Linked DNA regions of Homo sapiens: regions 2, 3, 4 and 5 are each linked to region 1. Evidence: promoter capture Hi-C in 16 types of primary human blood cells and fetal thymus (Javierre and others, 2016). All regions are on one chromosome and are shown on one strand. The core of a region is centred on a gene start or on the middle of the fragment in contact, and the rest is flanking DNA. Distances in the headings are between cores, read along the strand shown. Region 1 holds the start of MYO1B (myosin IB). Region 2 has its middle 190 kb from the start of NABP1. Region 3 has its middle 210 kb from the start of NABP1. Region 4 has its middle 190 kb from the start of MYO1B-AS1. Region 5 overlaps MYO1B (myosin IB).

What was found. Contacts are between HindIII fragments. The CHiCAGO score rates a contact against its expected background, and 5 or more counts as called.
Region 2: a contact is called between a fragment that was not itself captured here and the fragment with the promoter of MYO1B in region 1, in 5 of 17 cell types (M2 macrophages, M1 macrophages, M0 macrophages and 2 more). The highest score is 10.0, in M2 macrophages.
Region 3: a fragment that was not itself captured here is called in contact with the fragment with the promoter of MYO1B in region 1 in 4 of 17 cell types (M1 macrophages, endothelial precursors, M2 macrophages and 1 more); the score reaches 7.0 in M1 macrophages.
Region 4: a contact is called between a fragment that was not itself captured here and the fragment with the promoter of MYO1B in region 1, in 1 of 17 cell types (M0 macrophages). The highest score is 5.0, in M0 macrophages.
Region 5: a contact is called between a fragment that was not itself captured here and the fragment with the promoter of MYO1B in region 1, in 1 of 17 cell types (endothelial precursors). The highest score is 6.0, in endothelial precursors.

Annotation. Positions count from the first base shown.
Region 1 is chr2:191,243,930-191,246,826 of GRCh38, reverse strand. MYO1B (myosin IB) reads right to left here and starts at 1,423. Exons shown (of 31, transcript NM_001130158.3): 1 at 1,201-1,423. It overlaps MYO1B-AS1 (MYO1B antisense RNA 1), which reads left to right and starts at 652. Exons shown (of 4, transcript NR_186085.1): 1 at 652-908; 2 at 2,754-2,897. RefSeq lists a silencer at 1,113-1,502 and an enhancer at 915-1,537. The HindIII fragment of the contact is 11,846 bases long and covers 1-2,897 here.
Region 2 is chr2:191,484,770-191,487,666 of GRCh38, reverse strand. No RefSeq gene overlaps it. Among named protein-coding and RNA genes, the nearest start is that of NABP1, 190 kb to the left of the region's middle. The HindIII fragment of the contact is 6,496 bases long and covers 1-2,897 here.
Region 3 is chr2:191,464,158-191,467,054 of GRCh38, reverse strand. No RefSeq gene overlaps it. Among named protein-coding and RNA genes, the nearest start is that of NABP1, 210 kb to the left of the region's middle. The HindIII fragment of the contact is 9,484 bases long and covers 1-2,897 here.
Region 4 is chr2:191,435,360-191,438,256 of GRCh38, reverse strand. No RefSeq gene overlaps it. Among named protein-coding and RNA genes, the nearest start is that of MYO1B-AS1, 190 kb to the right of the region's middle. The HindIII fragment of the contact is 3,771 bases long and covers 1-2,897 here.
Region 5 is chr2:191,415,294-191,418,190 of GRCh38, reverse strand. It overlaps MYO1B (myosin IB), which reads right to left. Exons shown (of 31, transcript NM_001130158.3): 30 at 1,949-2,076. Among named protein-coding and RNA genes, the nearest start is that of MYO1B-AS1, 170 kb to the right of the region's middle. The HindIII fragment of the contact is 2,592 bases long and covers 203-2,794 here.

The sequences.
Region 1 (2,897 bases), core at 174-2,673:
AGGGTTTTTCAATTGTGTTACATAGTCTGATTCATTTATTTATAGCAATGTCTAATTTTCTGGTGGTTTCTGCCCTCAAACAGTCCTGGAAAACTGTTGTACTATATTATACTATAAAACAATTTTACGTCAAAATTGATTCTATAAAATTTGTCTCCTACCCATTCCAGCCAATATCCACTAGCTACACACACAGACCCAGAGGCACACACATACACACCAATACCATAGTTCATAGCAAAATTTTTTCAAATCTCAAAAAAAAAGGGGGGGGGGCTTCTTTCACTGTAACTAAGAAGATTTGCTTTGAGCAATCTAACATTGGGAACGCCTAGAAACTCAAGAAGCACACAACTTGTTGCAGCAATAAACGCTGGGCCGAAGCCTGAACAAAGCACTACAAATAAGCTCTAGAAACTCACATGGCCCTTGAACAAAATGTTGTGTGTTTGTAGTTACCTCTCCAGCGCGCTCTCATCACCCTCTCCCAACCCTCTCCCCAACTCTCTTCCCGGCCCCACCACCCTTCGTAGCTCCCGTCTCTAATCTGGTTTCCATTCCAGCCCCGCCCCCTTCCCCTTCCCTCTCTGGGACCGTGAATCAATCCCATCCCGGGCAGGAAACGAGACCCAGGGCAACCCCCTCCGCTGCGGCGGAACAAAGGAGGCGAGCGCAGCTGCACGCGCAGGGAGGCCCACAGCGTCCCGGGCCCCTCCTCCCCCGCCGCCGCCGGGGCACACCGCACCTGAACCCCACTCCCCAGGACGCCCCATTGTTCTCCCTCCGCTTTCCTGCCCGGAGGAAGCCACACCGTGTCTTTCCAGGGGGCCAGGAAACAGCTGTGGGCCAGAGGAATGGAGGGGCTGTGGGTGAACACGAGGACAGCCGAGATTCGACTCTGCCCACAGGTACGAGAGGCATGGGGCAAAGTAAGAGCAACTTAGTTTACAAGCCCTTCTTCCCTCCCGCCACCCCCGAAGCCACTGCGGAGTCACGACCACCCTCCGCAACCTACAGCGTGCGCCGTTCCCGCCGCAGCGCCGCGTCTCCCAAGAGAGCGGCAGAGCCCGCTGACCCCCGCCCGCAGGGTGCGACGGGGCCAGGGACCGCGGGCACAAAGGCGCGGAGCAGGCGCCTCGGGGGCCGACGACGGACGCAGAGGGAAGGGCAGGGGAGAGAGAGAGAAAGCGCTCGCGCTACCTCGCCTGGCGCTACCTCGCCGGGCGCCACTCCGCCTCCACGTCGTCCTCGCTCTCCGGTGGCGCTCCGGGACGCGGGCCCAGCCCGGGGCTGCGGGGCTCCCGCCGCGGCTGTTCTGCCAAGGCTGTCCCGCGGCTGCCGGCCGACTGCGCGCCGCGCGCTCTGGTACTGCCTCCACGCGCCGCGGTTGAGGCTCCCGTGCGCACCCAGCTGCGGAGTGCTCAGCGGCGGCGGGAGGAGCCCGGCCACTCCCCTCTCGCCCGCTGGCGGAGGGGCCGGCCGAGGGGCGGGGGCGGCGACCTCGCTGCCTGGGATTCGCCCCTCGGCGCGCGGGCAGGAACGGGAGCCACCGCCTCCGAGCCGACTCACCTCTGTCCGCCCGGTGCCGGCTTCACAGCGCCCCCCGGTGAGCGTCGCGGCGGCCTCCGCGCCTTGCGGGTTTGCGGCCCGACCCTCCGCACCCGGGGCGAGCCTGGATGGGACGAGGCTTGAGGGAAGGAGGGGCGATCGTCGCGGCCCCCACGGAAGGCAGTCTTTCTACCTTTTTTGCTTCCAGACTCACTGACATAAAATGAGAAATACAACATTTGACAACTCGAAGCCAGCCTGGGGTCACATTCCGGCAAACAGTGGGAGTAAGTCTCAATTTTTCCTCCTCCCCAAGATGAAAATTTTTGGATGCCGAGAATATCAGAAAATATTAGTTTCACAGAAAAAGAAAAAAATTATACTGAGTGGTGTGGTGTGTCTTCATTTACAAGACTTTTAGTATCTTTTAAATTACTTAATCTCACATTGTGGGAAATAGACACTGGCCAATTCTTTGTGTTATAAATACATGAGAGGTAGTTTAAAAGAAATTTCAAATACCCATACGTATTTGAATAGAGTGTATTAACAGGTCCTGAGTAATGATCAGTGATGGGGTATATTATACAGGCATGTAGGGGCCAGAGAATCAGGACACCCCCCCTACACACACACACACACCTTCTCACTCAAGCCCTATTGCCTCATTGGAGAATTTAGAACAATCCTCTTGACCCAGGTCCTGGTTTCTTCATCCTCGCACAGGGAAGGGTGCGCATTCAAACTTACTCACTGGGTGAGATGAGGATTACTTGGCTGAGGTGTTAAAAGCACTGTAGACACAGTAATTATTACTCATGGTTCTAACTACTTTATCCTATAATGAAATAAATTGCCATAAATGGGCCAGGTTTAAATGGACTGACCTGTATCTGGAAACTGTCACTAAAGTGAGGTGAACCAAAGAATTCAGACCATATATAGTAACTGTTCCCACTGGCATAAGAACCACAGGCGCTGGGATTTGTTAAATGCCACTAGTAGAGTTTGGAAAGGTGGGACCTTCACAGACTATATCTGCTGGGAACTGTCTCATCATTGATGTCACCATCAGCATCACTTCAGATGTACAAGTGGTGTGATAATGGGCGAAACTAACACATACTGGGTACCAGGGACTGTTCTTTGTTTAATCCTCACAAAAAGCTCTGAGGTAAGTTTCTCTCATTATCCTTGTTTTACAGACCAGCAAAGCCAAGGACAGAGAGGTCTTCAGGGAATACATGGCTATGGTGGTTTGAAGACTCCCATTAGAGAGTGGATATTAATTGCCCTCCTTTTGAATATGGTCTGGACTTAGTGATTTGATTGTAACAAATAGAATACAG
Region 2 (2,897 bases), core at 271-2,770, 240 kb before region 1:
CTGGTCTTTGACCACCTATTTTTATCCAAAATGGCATGAAGACATTGTCTTTCCCAGTAGCTATGGTTATCAGAATGTGGCAAACCTCAAAAGGAGTGTCAATACAGTGTCAATCACAAAATAATATTCTGTCCTCTCCAATTACGCTACTTCAGACTACCAGAAGGCCCATGGAGACACTCTTGTAGCTTCCATGGCAAAAACGCTGGATTCAGAAACACAATCCAGGCCTTAATTAGGAAATTATGTAAAATCAAGTGTTACCTGGTCTCTCTGCCTCAGTTTCCCTATATACAAGTTGAGAAGATGGAGGAGATGATTTCTAGGGAACTTTCTAGTTTGAACATTATATAATTCTACATCTGTGGCAACTTTATGTCTGGGGAGGCGAGTCTGCCATTTCATGCAGAAAATGAAACTCCACCAGAGAAAACCTCTGGTATGTGGAAAAGAAAAGGCAGTAGTCATCTTTTCTCATTAGCAGCACCAGATTCTGCTACCTCAGCTGGATGCTGTTTAGTCATCTGCAGTAATAACCTCCATTCCCAGCTCCAAGCTGCTGCGTGGGCCTAGACTGAAGTCTCTGTGGTTATGAGTCACAAGCCCATTAAAGCCAGGAATTGACACGAGACCTTGAAAGGCAATTTGCCTTCCATACCTAGCTTCCTAGGAACTGGTTTCTTCCCAAAGAGAAAATAGTATATGTGATTTATGAAATATCACATAGTATTTCCTCATAAGCTCATGGCTCTAGAAATGAATTCCTAATTCTCCAACTGGAAACATCTAGATTTTTGATTTTAGCTATTATTATCAGTTGTTGGATCCAGAGCTCCTCATGGTCCATTAAGTCTAGTGAATGCAGTGCTGAACAGAATACAGTCATTGATACAATCTACTTTTATCTGGGAAGTCTGCTGAGGCTACTTGTCCTTTTGGCATTTTCCCTTTGCTAAATGTTAAGGTATGGGTTCAAAGCAACAAGGCTTTGCAATATCAGCAAACCTCTAAGGGCAGTCCTTCACCCCCACAGGTATGCTCACCTTAGCTCCTTGCTGTACTACTAGATGTCTAATAAGTATTCACTGATGGTCCCCTCCCTGTTGCTACCACATGATAAATCAAGGAGGTGGTGCCAGCCCTACTTTCAAAGTACTAGAACCAGGTCAGCCTACACTCCCTAATTTCAAAGCCCGAGAAGAAGCAACACAATTTGCAGACTATAAAAAGAGCTTTGGGGATTGGATAGAAATGGAAACCCAAGTGGTATCTTCTGCAGAGCAAGCACAATGGGCCCCGGGGAATGGAGGGAAGTGGCTGCATGGACAGCGTTATTACTAAAATTTGGCCAAGGGAGATAAAGGGCAAGGCTGAGGGTGGGAGCATGATCCTGGGAATCCAAAATTAGTGCCTGAGAGGATCGAAGCACCAAAAAGAATGAGAGTGAGGGCCAAAGAGAAGTGAGGAAAACCACAAGGGTGCTGTATGGGATTTAAAGACACAGCAAGATATTAAAGATGTCTTCATCCAAGACATCCCAAGGGAAATGGAGAGGAGTGGGAAGGTTTTCTCAGAGTATCCATTTTCCTTCCAATTTCCCAGGAGAGGTGACATTTGTGCTGGTGTTAAGGGCTGAGTTGGTATGAGTTAGTGATACTACACAGGCTATGAAGCCAGAGTCTGGCCCAAGCAGGGCCCTACTCTTTATTAATTGTGTCATTTTAGGCCAACTGTGCCTCAGTTTCCACATCTGTAAAGTTCATTCATTTGAAAAATCTTTGCTGACCATTACAATATACCACACAGCATTATGGTGAATAAAACAGATAAATATTCCTTTTCCCTATAGCTTGCCTTCTAATGGATGAGAATACTACTATTACTACTAGTAATACCCATCTTATAATGTTGTCATGAAGATTAATTAGTGCATACACATCAAGCACATAAAACTGTGACAGCCCATAATTAATGCTCAATAAATGCTGGCTATTATTATTACTATGAGGTGGGCAAGCAAGCTGAGGCTATTTCAGTAAGAGAAGGAAAAGGATGTAGTAAGTGTGGAAATAGCAAGAAGTTAATTATGATCATAGTGGTGGGCACCTGGGGTAAAGATAAATTTGGAAAGTTGATCTGGGGACAACTGTTCCCTGGCCCTTGAGCCATATCTTTTATATCTTGAGAAGCAGAAGGGTTCAGGCTCTGGGGAGTGAACCTCAGCTCAATTACTCACTAACTTACATCACAGGTGACTCTAGGTAAGTAACTGGAGCTTTTTGTGCCTGTTTCCTCATTGGTAAAATGTTGAGATCTACGTCACAAAATCAAAGGGAAGATTAAGTGAGTTAATATTTGTGAAGCTCTTAGAACTCTGATGTCATAATTCAGGAAACATTTGATAAATATAAGCTGCAATTAATTATCCTCATTACTAGTATTTCTATCATCTTCCTCCACTCTCTAGTTTGGCAACATGTACTATCATAATGTGTTATTCTTGTTCTTTGCCTTTCCTGCTATTCCCAAAATAAGCTGCCAGGAAGTTATGCTTCTTCCTTGTACTGAGTCTTTCCAATACTTCCTTTCTCTCCCAGGGCTCCTTTGCTAGTTTAGGCCCTTACTCTTTGTTCTAAGGATACAGCAGCAGTTTCCCAGTTGGCCTTTTTTTCGTAAGCCATCCTTAACCCAGTCTGTTTTTCACAAAGCTGCCAGAGTAATCTTTCTCAAAGAGTGTTGTCCACATGTGCATCACTCTGTCTTGCCTATTGTACATCTTAGTCTTATTCTGGCATTCAAAACCATTTTATTAGCTCTACCATCCCCAACCATCACCACCACTATTCTACAACCTCCCTCCACCACTCCCAGGATGGCTAGTTCAAGTGCAAGGCAGA
Region 3 (2,897 bases), core at 252-2,751, 220 kb before region 1:
AAGGGATGGGGGTAGAGGGTGGGTAAAAATCCAGTGTTCTCTGCAGCCCAAGCACTGCACCTAGAGGAAGAGGCTTTGTAATTTGTCCACCCAAGGTGTGTTTTGTGATTCTACTATCTGGAAGAGGTGCTTTCTGGAAATTATGTGCTGGTGGAGCCCTGAAAGTTAACTACTCCCACCCACCAAGAGTCAGAAATTAATGTAAACTATAGACAAATTCCATTTTCCACTCCTGAATTGTAAGTTCCATATTCACCACATAATGTTTGCCAGGCCTACATGATGAATTGCTGAGAAAATCAAATGAGATAACATATTTGAAGAAACTGTTTTAAAACTGGTGAAATGCACACAAATTTAAAGCATTATCATCAACAGCTTTGAGCTTTGGGGCCAGAACACTTCCTTTTGGTTCATATGATCAATATAAAACATTAAATTTTTCTTTGTACTTTACTTGGAAGTGGGAAGGGTTCTGCCTACAAAATTGCACATGCATTTTATTTATGTCATTGCAATTTGCTATGGAATTGTCATTCTAGGCCCTTAGATCATTTATTTATTTAACAAGCACAACACATGTTCTATGTACTATTAAATGAACACTGATGACACTAAAATTAAAAAATATAAAGTACCATGAAACTATTAAATTATTCTCAAAGGAATCAGAAAAGCAAACTTTCACAATGCCAAAATAATTTCCTCTTTTGGAATATCAGGACAAGTTTAAAAGGAAAATATTGTTTGTACATAAAACTAACTGGTTTTGCCCTACATTGTCACAGTAAGTTGAATCATATCCATAGAGCTGTACACAGGAACTCTATTTTTGGAATGGAATCCAATAAAACTTCTATCTTGGCTTTATAAAGGTCTTTCTCTCTTTTCCATTCCTAGCTCATTGTATTTTTTAAGCTCTAACTAAAATTACTTAGTAAATTATTTTTCAAGATGTGAATTCATTTAAAAAGTTGGTCCGCTGTAAAATATCTTTTTGCCATCAAAGTTGAATGAGCTCACTTTCCCGTATTCTTTTGTTTAAAGATGATGGAAACTGGTAGGAGGGAGAAGTTGGAGGGGGGAATGTTTGGAGCCTTCAGGACAGCCTGTGACAGGAAGTCCCAATGGAGCAACCCACAGTTACAGGAAGTGAGGAGCCTTTCTTCCCAGAGTCTTCTGCAGCTGTGTGGATCAAGGAGGCCACATTCCTGGTTCGACCTCCACTTAATTACTCTGACCAACAAGGCCTCAAACTTTGTCCCCAAAGTTGTAAGACTATTAATTAATTAATTAATTGATTTTTTTTTTCAGACAGATTCTTGCTCTGTCGCCCAGGCTGGAGTGCAGTGGCACAATATCAGCTCACTGCAACCTCTGCCTAATGGGTTCAAGCAATTCCTCTGCTTTGGCCTCCCGAGATGCTGGGATTACAGGCATGCACCACCATGCCCAGCTAATTTTTTTTCTATTTTTAGTAGAGATGGGGTTTCACCATGTTGGCCAGGCTGGTCTGGAACTCCTGAACTCAAGTGATCCTCCTGTATGGGCCTCCCAAAGTGCTGGGATTACAGGCCTATTTTTTGATTTAAAGAAAAGTTTTAGGCCAGGCACGGTGGCTCACACCTGTAATCCCAGCACTTTGGGAGGCGAAGGCGGGCGGATCACCTGAGGCCGGGAGTTTGAGACCCTCCTGACCAACATGGAGAAGCCCTGTCTCTACTAAAAATACAAAATTAGCCGGGTGTGGTGGTTCATGCCTGTAATCCCAGCTACTCGGGAGGCTGAGGCAGGAGAATCGCTTGAACCCGGGAGGCGGAGTTTGCAGTGAGCCCAGATCGCATCATTGCGCTCCAGCCTGGCAACAAGAGTGAAACTCGGTCTCAAAAAAAAAAAAAGGTTTTGACTCTTCATCAGTGAGAGTCTAGGCACTGCTGTGGGCTCCACCCACTAAAGAGCATCTCTCCTCTTGTTGAGTGAACCATTGCTTGAGACTGTTCCCAGGCACGAGGTGGAAGAGCTCGGTAAAACCAAACAATCTTTAATGAAAGAATGTCAAACTGAAAGTCAGCCAGATTTTATGTGTTCTTACCATCCACCCTGTTTTCTTAGTAAAAGTTTAATATCTTAGGGATACCAACCAGGTTGGATAAAAATTATACTAATAATTTAAAAAATCAATTGGTTAGAGGAAACAGAAGTTATTGACTTAGAGTCTGGGGATATTTATATTTAATATATTATATATAATATATGTCTAATATATTATATATGTTTAGTATATTATATATAATTTATATTTATAATTTTATAAATGTAAAATTTTATGAATTTTATAAATAATTTAAATGTAATAAATATTACAATTTAAAAATTTATAAAATTACATATATAATTATATATTTTTTATATATATATAATGACTTTTCTAATACCCCGGGTGGGATAAAATGTCCCAACAAGATACATTTACTTTTGACCTTCAGAGAAAAAAAAAGCGATTTCTAGCCTTTTTAATAAGAGATACCTTTAAACAAAAAGAAACATATTAAAGTTGAGAGAAAAATTTTCATTGATACAAATGAGATGTTCTTGAAATGATTGCCTTTGTTTCCAACATCACGGTGCTCAACTGCCAAATACATTATGACCTTTGGGGAAACCATAAAAGCTCATCATTTAAATGCACATTAATTCTTCTAGGTCCCTGGGTGTCATTAAGTAAATTACCAGCCCTAGACATCTTAGGGTGTCTTTGGGGCCTGAAAATATGTATGCTTATATGCTTTTCTCAAAGAAGGACCAGACCCCAGGATGGCTGGCCTGCCTGCCCTTCTCCCTGGGAATATCAAAATCAATCTCTTTTAAACTCACGTTTAATTCTAGGAGATTGCTGT
Region 4 (2,897 bases), core at 149-2,648, 190 kb before region 1:
GCAGAAGAGAATGAACTCTCCAGACAGGCAGTGAGCCGAGCTAATAGAAGAGAAAGCAGAGATGGAGTGCGGAGCACAGCCACATACAACACCCCTTTGAGGGGTGGGGAGAAAGGAAGTAGAGAGGACACGTCCTCCCCGGGCACGCAGCAATGCTGTCCAGAGTGGGTCAATGGGAATGGAATGGGGGTGGGGTGTGGGGAGACAGCACACAACTTCATCCAAATATACAGGATGTTTCATGATTTAGAAAGTTCCCATGCTAATTAAAAACAAAACAAAACAAACCCCAAAATCATGTCCTTTGCAGCAACATGGACTGAGCTGGAGGCCATTATCCTAAGAGAACTAACGCAGAAACCGAAAACCAAATACCACATGTTCTCACTTTTAAGTGGGAGCTAAATATTGAGTACGCATGGACATAAAGATGGGAACAATAGACACTGGGGCCTCCTTGAGGTGGGAGAGTGGGAGGAAGAGGAGGATTGAAAAACTACCTATTAGGTACTGAGGCAGAATAGGGTTTGGAGACAAGGAACATAAGGACTTCCTAGAACAAAGTCAAATGGAAAACACTTCAGCTATAACAGAAAATATCCTCTCCATTTACGTAGGGCGTACAACAGTAAATGACTTTGTAACTTTACTTCATCCTCTTAATTTACATAGAGCATACACCAAGTAACCAGTGGAAACCTCTAGAGGGTATTTAAACCCCAGAAAATTCTGTAACAGGGCACTTGAGCCCTTATGCTCGGGTCCACTCCTACCGTGTGGAGCATCCTCTCATTTTCAATAAATCTCTGCTTTTGTTGCTCATTCTTTCCTTGCTTTGTTTGTGCGTTTTGTCCAATTCTTTGTTCAAGACACTAAGAACCTGGACACACTCCACCGGTAACAGTACTATGCTCATACCTAGGTGACAAAATAATCTGTACACCAAACCTCAGTGACACACAATATCCATGTAACAAACCTGCACATTTGCCCTCAGAACCTAAAATAAAAGTTGGAAGGAAAAAAAAAGTTCCCATGTTGACTCTTTCTGAAAAGTTAATTGTATGATTTATATAAGTAACTTTAGATTTAATAATAAAATAATCATTTTTTATAATTTTTCTAGCAGACTAATTGGAAGGATAAATTTAAGGATGTAATTGAACACTTTATTAATTAAAGAGTATGTTAAGACATCCAATTTGAACAATCTTTTTGCCATTGCCGAATATTTCCTCCCACTTGTAATCTCCAGTCCTTTAAACTCCCATCCTTAGCTCTGCCTTGTCTGCTGTTCTGTTCACACAGCTTGGGCAGTTCTCCTATCTCTCTCACCCTACTTCCCCATGAATCTGTCATAATGGTCTACAGCCACAAAGGCTAATGCTAGTCCATGCCGCAAAAGAGAAATGGAGAATTTTCCCCATGGCATGAAAGGAAGTTACATTTTTCCAGTAGTGGGGAAGGAATTAACAGTGACCCCTCGGGGCCTGACATCTGGGACTTCGGATGAGTAGGGTGGATATAGTCCAAATTGGCATCATGGAATTGTATTTTATTCTTTTGCTTTTTTCAAATTTTAACCCAAGTGTCATGGTATTTGAGGGACAGGACATATTTTTAAGGAAGGCAGAAAGACACAGCCTTATGTTGCAAAAGAGTTACAAAAATAACTCTAGTACTTCCTGATTAGACACATCACAGATGAGATCTGCCTCTTTGCAAGTGAGGTTAAAGTTCAAGGAAACGAGCACATAGCGAGATTTTCTGTTTTCCTTCTTTGTAAATATATACCCATGTGCATATGCACACAGGCATGCACACACACACACCATCTTTGGAGCAAAGGATTTTGGACACTTTTTATTTTAAATAACAGCTTAGTCTCAAGAGACTATCATATATATAGTTTTACAGAATAAAATACATTTGATTGTTTTAAATATCCATCCATCAGTCACAAGCACATGGAAATCTTAGAAACACTACTGCTAAGTCAAGAAAGGTCCCCTCCCCATCCCCACCCACCCCCCCCGCCCCGCTGTATATAACATTTAAATGCAAATAAGGCTTCCCATGTTGAAAAAGTGCCAGAAATAGAAGGAGTAAGAGTCTATATAATAGGCAGCTGAACCCCAAGAGTTTAAAAGGGAACAGTAAACTATCCTCTCTTACAAATCTTAAATGAAACACACGTAAAACTCTGCAGATGCAATTATTTCTCTTTATGGTCCAAAGCACCAGCTGCGTAGGTTCAAAGCCATCTTGGACTCAGGCAGCAGTTTGCCAGTCTACCTCACCTCTATCAGCTGTCATTCACACCAAGTGCTGAAGGACATGCTTAAGATGCTCACACCACTGCTTGAAACTCCAGTTGAAACTCCAGTCGTTGAAAAAATATTTTCAACTTGTCACCATTTTCGTTTGTAAAAAACATATCTGGTCATATTATTCTAATTTTCCTCTGTAAAAGAATTTCATTAGACAGTCTAGAAAACAAGAGGAAAGCAACAGAGAAAGTAATAGCCTGCTTAAAGAACCAAGAAACCACGTGTTATTCAGAATACACTTCTCAGCAACCAAATCTATCCCCAAAGGCATAATACAGACATGCCTTTCTTAGGCATGTTCTGAAAGCGTATCATTTTTGTAGATTTTATTTCTCATCATTTTACTCCCCTGCAATAGCTTGTGTTTTTGTTTTTCTCTAACTGGAAATGGCTTCAAACATGTCGGCTCTTCCAGAAGTGAGGAACTTCAGGTTGTCACCCTGATGAGCATTGTGTTTCGTTCTGGAGGCTGCATTTTAGAAGGGACACCAGTTGCCTTGCATGCAGGCCAGCTGTGGGCTGGGATTCATACCATAAATGCGCAGAGAATTGGAGGGTATGAAGATG
Region 5 (2,897 bases), core at 249-2,748, 170 kb before region 1:
AACTTCCTCTGCAGGCTTCCTGTGCCACCTGGGGAAGGGACCCACGGGTGCTATGTAGAGTCCTATGAACTGTTTTATTTTTATGAGACCAATCAATAATTAGGCACTGGAGAATGAAAGGCATTATAATGCTACCCAATGTTTGTTTTCTTCATGTGGCCACATTATAAATCTTCGCTCAGACAACTGTTTACTGAAAGCTTATGGCATCCAGAACATCACACGCCCTCTGTGACAGGGCAGGGCCCTTGCTGCCCAGAAGCGAACTGTCCCCCTTTCCCAGATGGCACACCTTCGAACACAAGCTGTGAGAGCTGCTGAAGGAGCTCTGTGGTTGACTATGTTTAGGATTCACGCCACACGCTATCCCCGCAAAGCTCCTCAGGAGAATCACAACAAGATTTCAGGGACTCTGAGATGTAATGTAGTGAAGAAAGATTTTAAATTTCCATCAGAGAACAATTTTTTCACAGTACATCGTTATTAGCATCCTGTACAAGCAATGTTCCTAGAATCCCGGTTTGGGAAATGCTTAAAAATAGCAGTACTTTGTGGTCTGGATGTTGGTGTGATTTCCTTTCTGTGTAAAGATGAGTTTATTCACATAGTGGGACAACTATGAGACTGCTTCGTCTGTACACTGAGGAGCTTCTGCTGTCTGGGATACATACGATCTTCCCATGGTGAGTGAGAATTAGCAGCCCCACCAAAGCCCATTCTCCCAGATTATGAAAAACTTCAACTATTATAAAGGGATTTTAAAGCTCTAATAGGCCCTAACGTGTTAAATCCTTAACTGAAACACACCAACCATTATTTTTTTCCTAATTTCTTTATGAGAAAGATCTCATTAACAAGAAAAGTTATTTAGTCCGAACAGCAATTTCCAATATAGAGTATACATGAAGCCCAACCTCCCACCCAAATCTAAACACTTCAATGAGAACTTAAGAAAAGCCCACAGCACTGCAAAATCCTAACATATCAAAGAGAGTCTGACTTACAAAGGGGCAGAAATGGGTGTAAATTTATTTTAGAAAGACTTTTAGGAAGAGTTGAAACAGAATAGACTAGAAAATTCTTAATTAGAAAAGAATATAATTTCCTGAGCAATCTAGACATGCAAAGAAGTATATAAGCAGGTAAACAATCTATTGAAAGGTAACCAATTAAGTATAATCAACACAGTAACTCAGATTTCTCCAAAACACTTACATAGATAGATACAATAAATCTGGGGATGCCCCAACCTGTATGCAAATAACTAACTTCTATATTCAGAACCCTAATGAGAAATTGAAGAAGCAAATTTCAAATTTATACCAGTCTCAGATGTCACCACATCAAAGAGGCCTCCCTGACTCTTTTTTTTTTTCTGAGACGGAGTCTCACACTGTCACCCAGGCTGGATTGCGGTGGCACGATCTCGGCTCATTGCAATCTCCGCCTCCCGGGTTCAAGAGATTCTCCTGCCTCAGCCTCTTGAGTAGCTGGGATTACATGCGCCCGCCACCACGCCCAGCTAATTTTTTTTGTATTTTAAGTAGAGACGGTTTCACCATGTTGGCCAGGCTGGTCTCGAACTCCTGACCTCGTGATTCGCCTGCCTCGGCCTCCCAAAGTGCTGGGATTACAGGCGTGAGCCACTGCGCCTGGCCTACTCTCTGACTCTTAACCCTTTTTTTCCTCCATAAACACTTGTTAGCCAAAATCTTATCAACTATTTCATCATTTTATTTGTACATACTGGTCTCTTCCACTAGGATGTCAGGTACATGAGGTTGGAGACTTGGTCAGTGTCATTCACTGCCCATTTATCATGTGGAACAACTACTAGACACATACCTGGTACTTAATAAGTAGTTGTATTAATGAATGAGATCGAGAGCTGAACTAAAACAAAAAAGCTGAAAGAGAAAAAGGGTTTTCAAACAATACATGAACGTACTCATCGGAAATCTCAATATTGAGCTTCTGTTTGGTTTGGCTGAGAGTTGTGCGATAGAGCTTGGTGGCCATTTCAATCAGGTGATCACTGCTGAAGAGAAAGTCTCCTTTACTAGCTGCTTCTGAGCCCTGCAAGGACAAACCAAGAGTCGGTCATAATTAAAGATACCTTAGAAGGTCAATATTTACAGGCTTGGCTAAAAACATACTTACAGTCTCTTTAAAACATCAGATCCTGGAATCCATTCTCCCAAGGTAAACAATAATGACAAAAGCAGTGTTTCTTCCAACTTGCTCAGAGCACTTTAGTAAGGTTACCTAATCCCCTTCTACCTAAAGTCGGTGGATGCAGCAGAAGCACCATGTGCATCACTTGGAGCTTGCTAGAAAAGCAGAATCTCAGGCCCTACCACAGCCCCAGTGAATATGAAACCACAACGCAACCTCCAGGTATGGGTTTACACATTCAGGTTTGAGGAGCATGGACCTATCCCGCAACTCTTCTGAAGGACTTGATTAAAAAACTTTTCAGTGATTTGGTTAAAACCCTAATGACAACACTTCCAACAAATATCCTAGGGCAGTGGCTCTCAGCCTTAGCTGTGCAAGGGAATCATCTGGGTTTATTCAAAAAAAAAACAAAACAAAACAAAAAAAAAAACATGATGCTTGTGCCCCCTCTGAGAAATTCTAATTTGATTTCATAGGGGTATGGCCTGGGCATCAGAATTTTTAAAGTTCCCAAGCTGTTTACATGTGTCACTGAGGTTGAGAATCACTGTCCTAGTATTTGATATGCCCCCTTTAAGTTAAGATCCAAAGTAGGGTAAACAGGCTAAGGGAAGCTTTGGGGATTTTTCTAAGTTTAGGGTTGGCCAGAGAGTAACATTATTAGCTAGACACATGTCCCTACATATGATCAATATTTGTTAACTTTTGTTTATTCAGTG